2 separate regions of the Homo sapiens genome follow, and region 2 is linked to region 1. The links are contacts of gene promoters, found by promoter capture Hi-C in human tissues and cell types (Jung and others, 2019). All regions are on one chromosome and are shown on one strand. The core of a region is centred on a gene start or on the middle of the fragment in contact, and the rest is flanking DNA. Distances in the headings are between cores, read along the strand shown. Region 1 holds the start of HPDL (4-hydroxyphenylpyruvate dioxygenase like). Region 2 overlaps ZSWIM5 (zinc finger SWIM-type containing 5).

Region 1 (6,320 bases), core at 513-3,012:
CATACGGAGTGAAACAATACAGAAAAGCAAAGGGCTAATAATGACAGGATTTGAGGAGTGGGTGGGAGGAAATAGAATCACAGCGGGACACAGGGAGGACTCGAAAGTATTGGTTATGTTCTATTTCCTAGTGTGTAATTCTTTTATTGTTCTTTGTATCTTACATATTTATTATAGACTGTATATAAGAAATGTTTTAGTTTTAAAAAATCCCACCTCTTTGGAGCCCAATGAGAGACACAGCTTCTGGCAGGCACTGATGAAATGGAAGTCACACCTGCCCCCCGGAGGCAAAGCCTTTCACTAGTTGGGCCTCCTGCAGATGTTCCTCAGTTCTGTGCTGGTCTCCCCAGAGCTGCAGGACAGCTGGCTGCACCCAGCCCTGGGCATCCTTAGGCTTCCTGGCTCCTGGCAGATTGCTCCTGTACGGACTGCCACAGAGCTCTGATGTTGCCCTGACCAAAGCCAGTGGCCCCCTGCCTCTGAATCAGCTCCAGGAAGAAAGTGTCCTCAGTAAAAAGGGACTTGGTGAAGACCTGAAGCAGAAACTTGCCTTTATCACCATCTAGCAGGATCCCCTGTCGAGCAAGCAGATGAGGCTCGTGCCCTGCAGCTCGGATCTGCCTCTCCTTTCCTGGCTGCTGGTAGTATGCCCCAGGGGGAGCCAGGAACTGGCCTCCAGCAGTTGCCACCCCCTCAGTGGCCTCCACAATGTTAGGCGTATACAGCCCCACGTGCTGCAGGCCTGGCCCCTTGTGCCGGGCCAGGAACTGCTCCACCTGGTCCTGTCGTGTCGTCGCCCCCGGAAGGGACTCAGCCAGAACAAGAGTGGGGACAATGCTGCCCGGCTGGGCCTGCAGGGCTGTAAGCCTCAGTCCCCCAAGCCCAAACCCTGCTGTCATTTCGAGGCCCAGCTCGGGATCCTCACCTGGGCTCAGCGGCAAGTGGCAAAAGCCCAGGCAGTCGTGGAACCAGCGCAAAAGTGTGGGGGAGCTGCCGGGGGTGCAGGCCAAGGTCAGGTGGTCCACGCGGCTGACCCACCCGGGGCCAGGCGCAGAGGACACGGGCCTGAAGCCGGGTAGGAAGGGTCCGCGGTAGCCAGCGCGCTCCAGCAAGGTCAGGCTGAGGATGCCGGCAGGCGAGCTGACCACGGCGTAAGTGGCGGCACCCTGCGCGTCCCGCACGCGAACGGGAGGGACAGGCACGCTGCAGCCCAGCGCTGCCAGCTCCCGGGTTGCAGCGCCGGCGTCCGCCACGTCGAAGCACAGGTTTGTGGCGCTGGGCACGGCGTGACGCGGATCCAGGCCGTACAGCGGCTCTCCAGACCCTGCGCCCTCGTTCACCAAAAAGACCGCGTCGCCGCTGCGCAGGGCTAGCTGCCGCCAGCCGTCCACCTCCCGCGAAGCCAGGGGCTGGAAGCCGAAGAGGCGCTGCAGGTTCCGGGCTAGGGGCTGCCCGGCGGGCACGTGGAAGGCGATGTGGCACAAACGAAGGGCGGGCGCGGCCATGGCGCTCTGGACGGCGACCTAGACTTGTCCTTCTGGGGCCGCTTACTTGTGGTTGGGGACTTCGGGGCTCTCAGTCCTGGGCTGATCGTCCGGAGTTGGGGAGTCCGGCTCACCCCGCAGAGCGCGTTCCTCGCTTTCTTCCGGAAAGAAGTCACCCGCCGACCCCTGAGAGCTCGCGGTTCTCCCTGCAGCGCCACCCCAGCCAGGAGCAGCGTCTGGACCACCGGGTCTCAGTGAGCCGAGCTGCTGGTTGTGAGAACCACGCGGTGCCTGTGCTCGCGCCAAGCAGGAGAAAGAGGGCGGAGCCCGTGACTCCGCCTTTGACTCCCCACCCCCTCCCCCACACCCTGTCGCCTCGGATACTGCGGGGTCGCCGCGCTGCTCTTTCCCCGGGCCTCACGCCTGGTCACATCCTTGGGCACTGAGCCTCCCTTCCCCAGCCCAGGAACTCACAATGGCTGCCTTCACTCGGCGCCAGGCACTGGGCTCCCACTCATCCCCCCAACCTCACAGCGAAGGGACTCAGCCCGGGTTCAGGGAAAGAGTTGGAATTCTCTCTCCACAAGCACGGAATTTTTTAGCACTTTCATGTTTTTTCTTTAAGTTCTGGAGTTTGCCTCTAAGTCTTAATGTTCCCTGGAATACACACACACACACACACACACACACACACACGTTTATATGTTTTGAGACAGGGTCTCACTCTGTCACCCAGGCTGGAGTGGCACAATCACAGCTCACTGCAGCCTCCACCTCCTGGGTTCAGGCGATTTTCCTTGCCTCAGTGCACAAATAGCTGGGACCACAGGCGGACGCCACCACACCCAGCTAATTAAAAATAATTTTTTTTTTTAGAAATGGGGTCTTGCTATATTGCCCAAGCTGGTTTTAAACCCCTGGGCTCAAGCCATCTTTCCACCTCAGCCTCCCAAAGTGTTGGGCAATCTCTCAACCAGTCCTGTCTCTTTCTTCAATCACCCTTCTGTCAACATCATTTAACCCCTTGTCCCAAGCAAGATTTGGAGGAAAAATCTGACGGTTCGGGATCTGAAAGGAACAGCTGCCTGGCTGTCATTCCCCTTCCCCATCCTTTGAGGACTGGAACACAGGCCCTCCTTGCTCTTTGCAGCTTCCTGACTTGGCATTGAGCCAGAGATTTCTGTGGTGGGGGCACTTCTGGCTCTGAAACCCAGAATTGTGTGAGATGACTGGATTGAGGAATTTGTAGTCTTCTGGAACTTCAACTGAGTGGCCCTTGAAGGGTTAGGGAAGGGCATCCAAGAAGGGCAAAGGGCATAAGCAAAAACTCAGTAAGAGTGTGAGCCAGACTCTTAGAGGAGCAATGGGCCATGCTGTTAGGGAGGCATTTAGGATGAATGCCACAGTCCAAGGCATCACAAGAAATTTTTTTGTCAGGCAGCCTGATCTACTGGGTTTCATTGGCAAGAGGGAGAAGGATGTCATAGGGGACAGGGGCTAGCTGGATGTCATGGTGTTCAGGCCTGCAGGCAGGAGGGCAGTACCCAGGAGCTGGTCAGGGTGGTAAAAGGTACTTGGTGCTACTCTGCAGACCAGTGAATGTGAGGACATGAGTTCCAAAAGCCAGACGGACCTGGGTTTGAATCACCAGCAACACTTACTGTCTGTATGGGCAAGTTGCTTAACGCCTCTGAGCCTTAATTTGCCCATCTGTAAAAATGGAAATAATAGTACCTACTTCAAAGAGTTGTGATTAAGTGAGGTGGAGTAAGTGTTCAGTAAATAGTAGCTGTTGCTATTGTAGTTACTGTTTTTTTTTTTAATTAATTTTATTTTCCCACATATTCTAATATTTATTTATTTTAAAAAGTTTTTCAGAGCTGGGCACAGTGGCTCACACCTGTAATCTCAGCACTTTGGGAGGCTGAGGCAGGCGGATCACCTGAGGTCAGGAGTTCAAGACCACCCTGGCCAACATGGTGAAACCCCATCTCTACTAAAAATACAAAAAATTAGATGTAATCCCAGCTACTCGGGAGGCTGAGGCAGGAGAATCACTTGAACCCAGGAGGCGGAGGTTGCAGTGAGCCAAGATCATGCCATTGCACTGTAGCCTGGGCAACAAGAGAGAAACTCTGTCTCAAAAAAAAAAAAAAAGAAAAGAAAAAAGTTTTTTTAGAGATGAGGTCTTACTCTGTCACCTAGGCTGGAGTGTAGTGGCATGATCACAGCTCACTGCAGGCTCCAACTCCTGGGCTTAAGCAATCCTTCCACCTCAGTCTCCCAAGTAGCTTGGGACTACAGGTGCACACCACCATGCCTGGCTATTTAGTTATTGTTTTATTTTATCTCATGATACAATGCCAGTGGTACCTCCCAGAAGGTGTTGTGTGGCCTACTAGAGAGATGGGGACAGGGGCTTCACTGGCATGGGCCAAAGGCTAGGCAGCCTACTCAATGAGCAGCTCACCCCAAGGAATCCTGGGTAGTAAGAAAGGAAAGTAAATCTTGGGGGCCCCAAATCACTAAGCTAAAAGGAAAAGTCAAGCTGGGAACTGCTTAGGGCCAATCTGCCTCCCATTCCGTTCAAAGTCACAGTAAGAGTTAAAGAAAGAGGAAAGAAACACAAAAAGCAGCTCAAAAATCAAACCTGAGAGGGGCTTCTGGCTGATTTCAGTCAGGAGTGCTCTCTCTTACAGACTATTTATTTATTTATTTATTTATTTATTTAGAGATGGATTCTCACTCTGTCACCAGGCTGGAGTGCAGTGGCGAGATCTCAGCTCACTGCAACCTCCGCCTCCCGGGTTCAATCGATTCTCCTGCTAGCCTCCCAAGTAGCTGGGACTTACAGGCACGCACCACCATACCCAGCTAATTTTTGTATTTTTTTTAGTAGAGACGGGTTTCACCATATTGGCCAGGATGGTCTCAATCTTTTGACCTCATGATCCGCCTGCCTCCACCTCCCAAAGTGCTGGGATTACAGGCGTGAGCCACCGCGTCTGGCCCAGACTAACAGTATTTATTGGAGAGAGCTTGGAATGTTTCTGTGTCAGGGAGAAGTTTATGGTGGAGTTGGAATGTCTCTGGTTGGAGGGGAGGTTATCTTGAGGCTGACACCTCTCCAGCCGAAGGGGAGGTTATCTTGGGGCTGGCATGTCTCTGGCTGGGGAGGGGCTTGGAACGTTTCTGGTCAGAGATGTCATTTGTGGTTTATGGTCATGCTGACCTTAGCCATTAGGCTGATGCCCTTTGGATTTAGGCAGTTTTTGATCAAGGCAAAACTTAAAATGGCAGTGCTTGTCCAAGATGGCAGTGCTCCTGCTCCGTCAGTCCAGACTCTATAGTGATAAAAAGGACGGGGGCAGCCAGGTGCAGTGGCTCACACCTGTAATCCCAGCACTTTGGGAGGCCAAGGCGAGTGGATAGCTTGAGGTCAAGTATTCAAGACCAGCCTGACCAACACGGTGAAACCCCATCTCTGCTAAAAAAAATACAAAATTAGGCCAGGCGCGGTGGCTCACGCCTGTAATCCCAGCACTTTGGGAGGCCGAGGCGGGTGGATCACGAGGTCAGGAGATCGAGACCATCCTGGCTAACACGGTGAAACCCCGTCTCTACTAAAAATACAAAAAATTAGCTGGGCGTGGTGGCGGGCACCTGTAGTCCCAGCTACTCGGGAGGCTGAGGCAGGAGAATGGCGTGAACCCAGGAGGCGGAGCTTGCAGTGAGCCGAGACTGAGCCACTGCACACCAGCCTGGGCGACAGGGCGAGACTCCGTCTCAGAAAAAGAAAAATTAGCCAGGCATGGTGGTGCACGCCTGTAATGCCAGCAAGCTGAGAGGCTGAGGCAGGAGAATTGCTTGAACCCAGGAGGCGGAGGTTGCAGTGAGCCGAGATCGCACCATTGCACTCTAGCCTGGGCAACAAGAGCGAAGCTCCATCTCAAAAAAAGAAAAAAAAAAAAAAGGGCCGGGTACGGTGGTTCATGCCTGTAATCCCAGCACTTTGGGAGGTTGAGGTGGGTGGATCATCTGAGGTCAGGAGTTTGAGACCAGCCTGGCCAGCACAGTGGAAACCCCGTCTCTACTAAAATACAGAAATTAGCCAGGTGTGGTGGGCGCATGCCTGTAATCCCAGCTACTTGGAAGGCTGAGACATGAGAATCACTTGAACCCAGTAGGCGCAGGTTGTAGTGAGCAGAGATCATGCTACTGCACTCTAGCCTGGGTGACAGAGTTAGACTCTGTCCCCCCCAAAAAAAAAAAAAAAAAAAAGAGGGGCGGCATGTTCTTTCTGGCTACTTCCTTTTGACGGGGATGGAGAGTTTTCTGGTTTCGGATTGACTATAGGAGTAATGCCATCTGTAGATGTTTTGGGGTAGTTGTCTGTGAAATGGCCATGATCCTGTCAGTTAAAAATCCTTGAAAAAAGTTTATTAGGCAGGGTAAGAACATTAGTCCTGGGCATATTATTAGGAGATGGCCCAGGAATGGGGATGACTCATGCTACGATTTTGTTCCCAAACCAAGAATCCATTTGGTTGTTTTGGTATTCCCTTAGCTTTTTAGTTCTTTCTTGCCGAGACCAGCTCGGTCGGGGAGACCCTAACCCAGCGGCGCTAGAGGAATTAAAGACACACACACAGAAATATAGAGGTGTGAAGTGGGAAATCAGGGGTCTCACAGTCTTCAGAGCTGAGAGCCCCGAACAGAGATTTACCCACATATTTATTAACAGCAAACCAGTCATTAGCATTGTTTCTATAGATACTAAATTAACTAAAAGTATCCCTTATGGGAAATGAAGGGATGGGCCGAATTAAAGGA
Region 2 (6,361 bases), core at 1,839-4,338, 150 kb after region 1:
GTCTTTTTGTTTGTCTGTGCCCTGCCCCCAGAGGTGGAGCCTACAGAGGCAGGCAGGCCTCCTTGAGCTGTGGTGGGCTCCACCCAGTTGGAGCTTCCCGGCTGCTTTGTTTACCTAAGCAAGCCTGGGCAATGGCAGGCGCCCCTCCCCCAGCCTCGCTGCTGCCTTGCAGTTTGATCTCAGACTGCTGTGCTAGCAATCAGTGAGACTCCGTGGGTAGGACCCTCCGAGCCAGGTGCAGGATATAATCTCCTGGTGTGCCGTTTCCTAAGCCCGTCGGAAAAGCGCAGTATTCGGGTGGGAGTGGCCCGATTTTCCAGGTGCCGTCTGTCACCCCTGTCCTTGACCAGGAAAGGGAACTCCCTGATCCCTTGGGCTTCCCGAGTGAGTCAGTGCCTCGCCCTGCTTCGGCTGGCGCACAGTGCGCTGCACCCACTGTCCTGTGCCCACTATCTGGCACTCCCTAGTGAGATGAACCCGGTACCTCAGATGGAAATGCAGAAATCACCCGTCTTCTGTGTCGCTCACACTGGGAGCTGTAGACCAGAGCTGTTCCTATTCGGCCATCTTGGCTCCTCCCTATACCATATCATTTTAACCTCTGCTTCCATTGTCACATTTCCTGTCTCTGACTTTAAGCCTCTTGCCTCCCTCTTATAAGGACTATGTGATTACATTGAACCCACTCAGATAATCCAGGATAATTGCTACATCTGAAGAATCTTAATCACATCTGTAAAGTCCCTTTTGTCAGGTTCTGGATGTTAGGGTGTGGACATATTTGGTGAGGGGCATTATTCTGTTTACCATGCCATCATAACAACATCTCATCTTCTGATCCATGAACATGGGATGTCTCCCCATTTATTGGATCTTAATTTCTTTCAACAATGTTTTGTTGAAGTTTTATCTTTTTTCAACTTTTATTTTAGAATTGGGGGGGCACATGTGCAGGTTTGCTACAAAGGAATATTTCACGGTGCTGAAGTTTGGAGTACGTACGAATGAATCTGTTACCCAGGTAGTGAGCATAGTACCCAATAGGTATTTTTTTTCAACCCTAACCCTCTCCCTTCCCTATGTTGTATTCATCAGTGTCTGTTGTTCCCATTTTTACAACCACATATGCCCAGTGTTTAGCACCTTCTTGTAAGTGAGAACATTTAGTCTTTGAATTTCTGTTTCTGCATTAATTAACATAGCATAATGGTTTCCAGGTGCATCCATGTTTTTGTGAAGTACATGGCTGTGTAGTATTCCATGGTGTATATGTACCATGGGATGTACCTCATTTTCTTTATTCAACCCACTGTTGGTGGGCACCTGAGCTGATTCTATGTTTTTGCTAATTTGAATAGTGCTGTAATGAATATACAGGTACACGTATGTGTCTTTTTGGTAGAATGACTTATTTTCCTTGGTTGGATTTACTCCTAAGATATTTTTTTCTTTTTCATGCTATCATAAATGGAATTGTTTCCTTTATTTCATTTTTTAATTGTTTGTTGCTAGTGTATATAGATAGAAATATAACTGATTTTTGTATGTTGATCTTGTACCCCTAACCTTGTGGAATTCATTCATTTATTTATTTATTTTAATTTTAAATAGTATCTTATTGAATGTTTTATTCACAGAAAAATAAGCTTTAATCTACAATGAATGCCAGATTATACAGCAGAGAGCAGTTTTCTTAGTTTTCCACACTGATAGAAAGGTTCTTACTAAGTGAAAAAAGCCATAAAATTATATTCACCAATAGAGTACTCTGTCTCAAAACATTCCACATGATTGTTCACAATACTAATACAATTAAATCAGTCATTTACGTTAAAGTATAACAGTGATAAAAAATGCAAAATCTAATATAAATTACATTAAAACTTTTGTTATATCAAATCAGAAATGCAAATTTCTTACTAAATACAGAAAAATGGTCAAATATATAGTAATTTAAGATATTACATTAATGATACAGAATAGGAAAGTGGTAAACTCCAAAAATCTATAGGCATATCTGCAAACTTCAGACTTCAAAGTAGAATCTGACCACCCAAACATTAATGTAGCATTTGTCTAATTTTTGTTTTGTTTTGTTTCTGAGACGGAGTCTCACTCTATCACCCAGGGTGGAGTGTGGTGGCGCCATCCTGGCCCACTGCATCCTCCACCTCCCAGGTTCAAGCGACTCTCCAGCCTCAGTCGGTCGAGTAGGTGGTACCACAGGCATGCGCCACCACACCCAGCTATCCCTTCATTTCTGCAAAGACAGGGTTTCAGCCTGTTGGCCAGGCTGGTCTCCAACTGCTGACCTCAGGTGATCCGCTTGCCTCAGCCTCCGAAAGTGCTGGGATTACAGGTGTGAGCCACTGTGCCCGGCGCCATTTGTCTAATTTGAAGATACAGTTGTCCCTTGCTATCCGTGGGGTTTTGGTTTCACAACCCCCTAGGACCTGAGGATGCTTAAGTCCCTTAGATAAAATCACATAAGGCCGGGTGTAGTGGTTCACGCCTGTAATCCCAGCACTTTGTGAGGCCAAGGCAGGCAGATCACCTGAGATCAGGAGTTTGAGACCAGCCTGGCCAACACCCTTGTGGAATGAATTTATTACTCAAATAGAGATAAACTTTTATCTTCCTTTCCAATCTGGAATCCTTGGTCCTTATCAAGTCACAAAACTCAGTGTTGTTTGTGCCATAGAATGCATTGTATTAAGGGATTTTTCTGCTTGCATTAGACTGGGAAATGCTTTTTAATGTGCTATTGTGTTATTAAAGAATATGATCCCAGGGAAGCAAGAGTGAGAGAAAATGAAATGAGACAGGGAAGGAGGGTAAGGCAACATAAGGATGTGTCATAGAGCTGGTTACTGCTTGGTATCAAGTAGCAACTGATTGCTCAATCTCCCCGAATTGTCTTATAAAGCAGCAGAGAGAATCCCCTTTTATGCCCATCTTTCATTTCATGAGATTCAGACCTGGGAAATATTTTGCTATTAAAGGTATATTTTGCATACCCCTCTGTAACTTTCACCATTATTGATTTCACAGTTTGGGTTGTAGGAATTGTAGAAATTGCTCTATTGCTGTTACCACTCTGTATAACCTGCAAACTTAAGTACCTTAAATTCCCTGTGTATATGGTGTAGGTTTTTCAGTTCCAATGTGGAAAAGGGGGTTGGCCATAGTTCATAGCCTTGTTAGAGTCTATAACAACTCTTAATGATTGGAAGTGTAAAATAAATAAGAACAAGCATTCAGTACATTTAAGAAATTTTTTTCTTTTTCAGTGTCATATTCTTTTCTTCTTTCCTATTATTTTCTTTAGTGTTTATTCCTTATTTTCTGCATACGTTTTAGAAACATAATCACTGTATAGCAAAATAGCTAATTATGAGGTGTCATACAATGATACTGCTCTTCTCTTCCCTCCTCTCTCTAGTTCCTGAATCCTTAATCATTCCCTTTTCTTCTGACTTCCCTTCCTGAAAACTTTAGTCCAAACCTGGGAGAAGCAAGAGAAAAGGAAGTGAGATGGGAAGAAGGGATAGTAGCAGTGGCCTGAAAGGGTATATTGGAGCCCAACTGGAGCAGTGGCCTAGCATGGGGTGCTAGAGCCAAAGTGGGGTGAGGAGGGTATCCACATGAAGGGGGATATAATTTGAGATGTCAGAGTCTGAAAGGGTTGAGGATGACTTTTGTATAGGGGTGAAGGGGAGTGTAGAGCCATAGGGTGTTAGTGTTCAGATGGGGTGAAGTGGGCATAGCAGGGGGTGGCAGCAGTAGGTGCAGGTTTTTTGAGCTTGAGCACAGTGAGAAGAATGTCCTTATTGGCAGGGAGGAGCTGTGGTGGCAATGAAAGATTGGTTATTTATAGATATTGATCAACTAAGTAAATCAATTAAGGATAACAGGAGCCAAATTTCTCACTATCAGAAAAAGTAGCTAAAATGTAGACCAGGCCGGGCGCGGTGGCTCATGCCTGTAATCCCAACACTTTGGGAGGCCAAGGCGGGTGGATCACCTGAGGTCATGAGTTCAAGACCAGCCTGGCCAACATGACGAAACCCCGTCTCTACTAAAAAATAGAAAAATTAGCTCGGTGTGGTGGCATGCACCTGTAGTCTCAGCTACTCAGGAGACTGAGGCAGGAGAATCGCTTGAACCCAGGAGGTGGGGGTGGCAGTGAGCCAAGATTGTGCCATAGCACTCCAGCCTGGGCAACAAGCAAGACTCCGTCTGAAAAATAAAATAAGATAAGAAAAGATAAAGACCAGGGAGAAAAGGTGAATGAACTCTGGGTTTTGGATTGTAATTGGAGATACCCACGTGAACTCATGGTTTTTAGTATATATTGGAATATATATATAATATATATTATATATATATATGGCATTCAGTTAACTGAGAGGGCCTTAGAGCAGTAATATCCCAATAGCAATAAGCACACCTAATGCCCATATCTTGGTTTCCAAGTACTTTTCTCCGATAAAAGGAACAAAGCCTCCTTGGAGAAATGGCTGAATTTAGGGGTGAGGCAGAGAAAGTATCAAATGAGCCTTGAACATGTTCTTGTGCCAGAAAGCAGGGAGGTTCTTAAAGAATTATAGCAACACATCAAAAAGGATACAAAAGCCAGCTTTGAAGAGATTCCCATTAGCCAAATATGGGATGAATTGAGTGTCAAAATAATGATAATAATGGATATAACCAACCCATTGAATGAAATAGAAACCCATGAGTTCATTGTGTCAATGGTTTTTTTTTTTTAAAGGCCAGGTGCCATGGTTCATGCCTATAATCCCAGCACTTCGGGAGGCTGAGGAGGGAAGATCACATGAGCCCAGGAGTTTGAGACCAGCCTGGGCAACATGGCAAAACACCGTCTCTACAAAAATTTTAAAAAATTAGCCGGGCATGGTGGTGCATGCCTGTGGTCTCAGCTACTTTAGGAGGCTGAGGTGGGAGGATCGCTTGGGCCCAGAAGGTTAAGGCTGCAGTGAGCTGGGATTGCTCCACTGCACTGCAGCTTGGGCGACAGAATGAAACCCTGTCTCCAAAATAAAATATTTTTAGAAAGAGTAAGTTGAAAATTTGATGAGTATATTGGCATAATGTCAATATGGTTCCCATGAGATACTTTAATTATAAGGGGAAAAAGGTAACTTTAAAGTGAGGAATCCAGGCAAACACTACTGTGATCAAATGAGCAAAGTTAACCTCACCAGTGATGGGAGAAATCAAAATTGTGTGCCATTTGATAGGAAACAATAAGAACATGGCTCCACTTCTATGATATTACTGCCAAAGATAGATAACCTGAATCTAATCATGATGAAATAACAGGCACTACTGAGGGACATTCTTCAAAATAGCTAGCCTGAAGTCTTCGTAAGTATCAGAAGTCAGAAAGTTAAGACTACAGGTGGTTCCAGATTGAAGGAGAATAAGGAGACATAAAAACTAAATGCATTGTATGACTTTGGACTGGATCCTTATGGGGACATTTTTGGGGCAATTGGCAACAGTTGAATGGGGCCTGTGCATTATATGATAATGTTATGGTATTGATTTCTGATTTTCATGATTTTTATAGTTCTGTAGGAGAATATCTTTGAAGGAAATACACAAAAAAAGTATTCTGGGGTGATAAGGCAGTACGTTGACAACTTACTCTCCAATAACTCATTTAAAAATTATTTGAACTGTACTTGCAACTTTTCTGTAAGTTTGAGATTGTTTCAAAATAAAAAGGGATAAATATGATAATCTTTTTCTTTTTTTTGAGACAGAATCTTGCTCTGTGGCCCAGGCTGTAGTGCAGTGGCGCGATCTCAGCTCACTGCAAACTCCACCTTGCAGGTTCAAGCAATTCTCCTGTCCCAGCTCCCCGAGTAGGAGAGTATTTTGTATTGGGTGTGTCATGCCCAGCTAATTTTTTTTTTTTTTTTTTTAGTAGAGTTGGGGTTTCACCATGTTGGCCAGGCAGGTCTCAAACTCCTGGCCTAAAGTGATCCGCCCACCTCGGCTTCCCAAAGTCCTGGGATTACAGGTGTGAGCCACCTCACTGAGCTGATAATGAACTTGAATGAACTTTGATTAATAGTGAGTACTCCTCCAATTACCTATTTATTTTGAATTGTTTAAGAGAATATGTTTTTCTTAGCTTACATTAAAAATCTCCAATTATTTTTATTAAAAGATCACTTTTGAATGTTTTAGTTTTATTTCATATTTTGTTTTGTTTTTTTGAGACAAGGTCTCGCTTTCTCACCCAGGCTGGAATGCAGTGGCCTGATCTTGGCTCACTGCAACCTCTGTCTCCGGGTTCAAGCAATTCTCCTGCCTCAGCCTCCTGAGT

Evidence for each region. Contacts are between HindIII fragments. The study calls those that stand out against the background at their distance.
Region 2: a fragment that was not itself captured here is called in contact with the fragment with the promoter of HPDL in region 1 in 1 of the 25 tissues and cell types used here (adrenal gland).

What each region holds. Positions count from the first base shown.
Region 1 is chr1:45,322,337-45,328,656 of GRCh38, reverse strand. It overlaps HPDL (4-hydroxyphenylpyruvate dioxygenase like), which reads right to left and starts at 1,762. Exons shown (of 1, transcript NM_032756.4): 1 at 1-1,762. The coding sequence starts at 1,508. The coding sequence ends at 393. RefSeq lists enhancers at 551-660, 1,421-1,670, 1,681-1,730 and a silencer at 4,466-4,760. The HindIII fragment of the contact is 17,678 bases long and covers 1-6,320 here.
Region 2 is chr1:45,174,164-45,180,524 of GRCh38, reverse strand. All of the region lies in intron 1 of ZSWIM5 (zinc finger SWIM-type containing 5), which reads left to right. Among named protein-coding and RNA genes, the nearest start is that of ZSWIM5, 29 kb to the left of the region's middle. The HindIII fragment of the contact is 4,739 bases long and covers 719-5,457 here.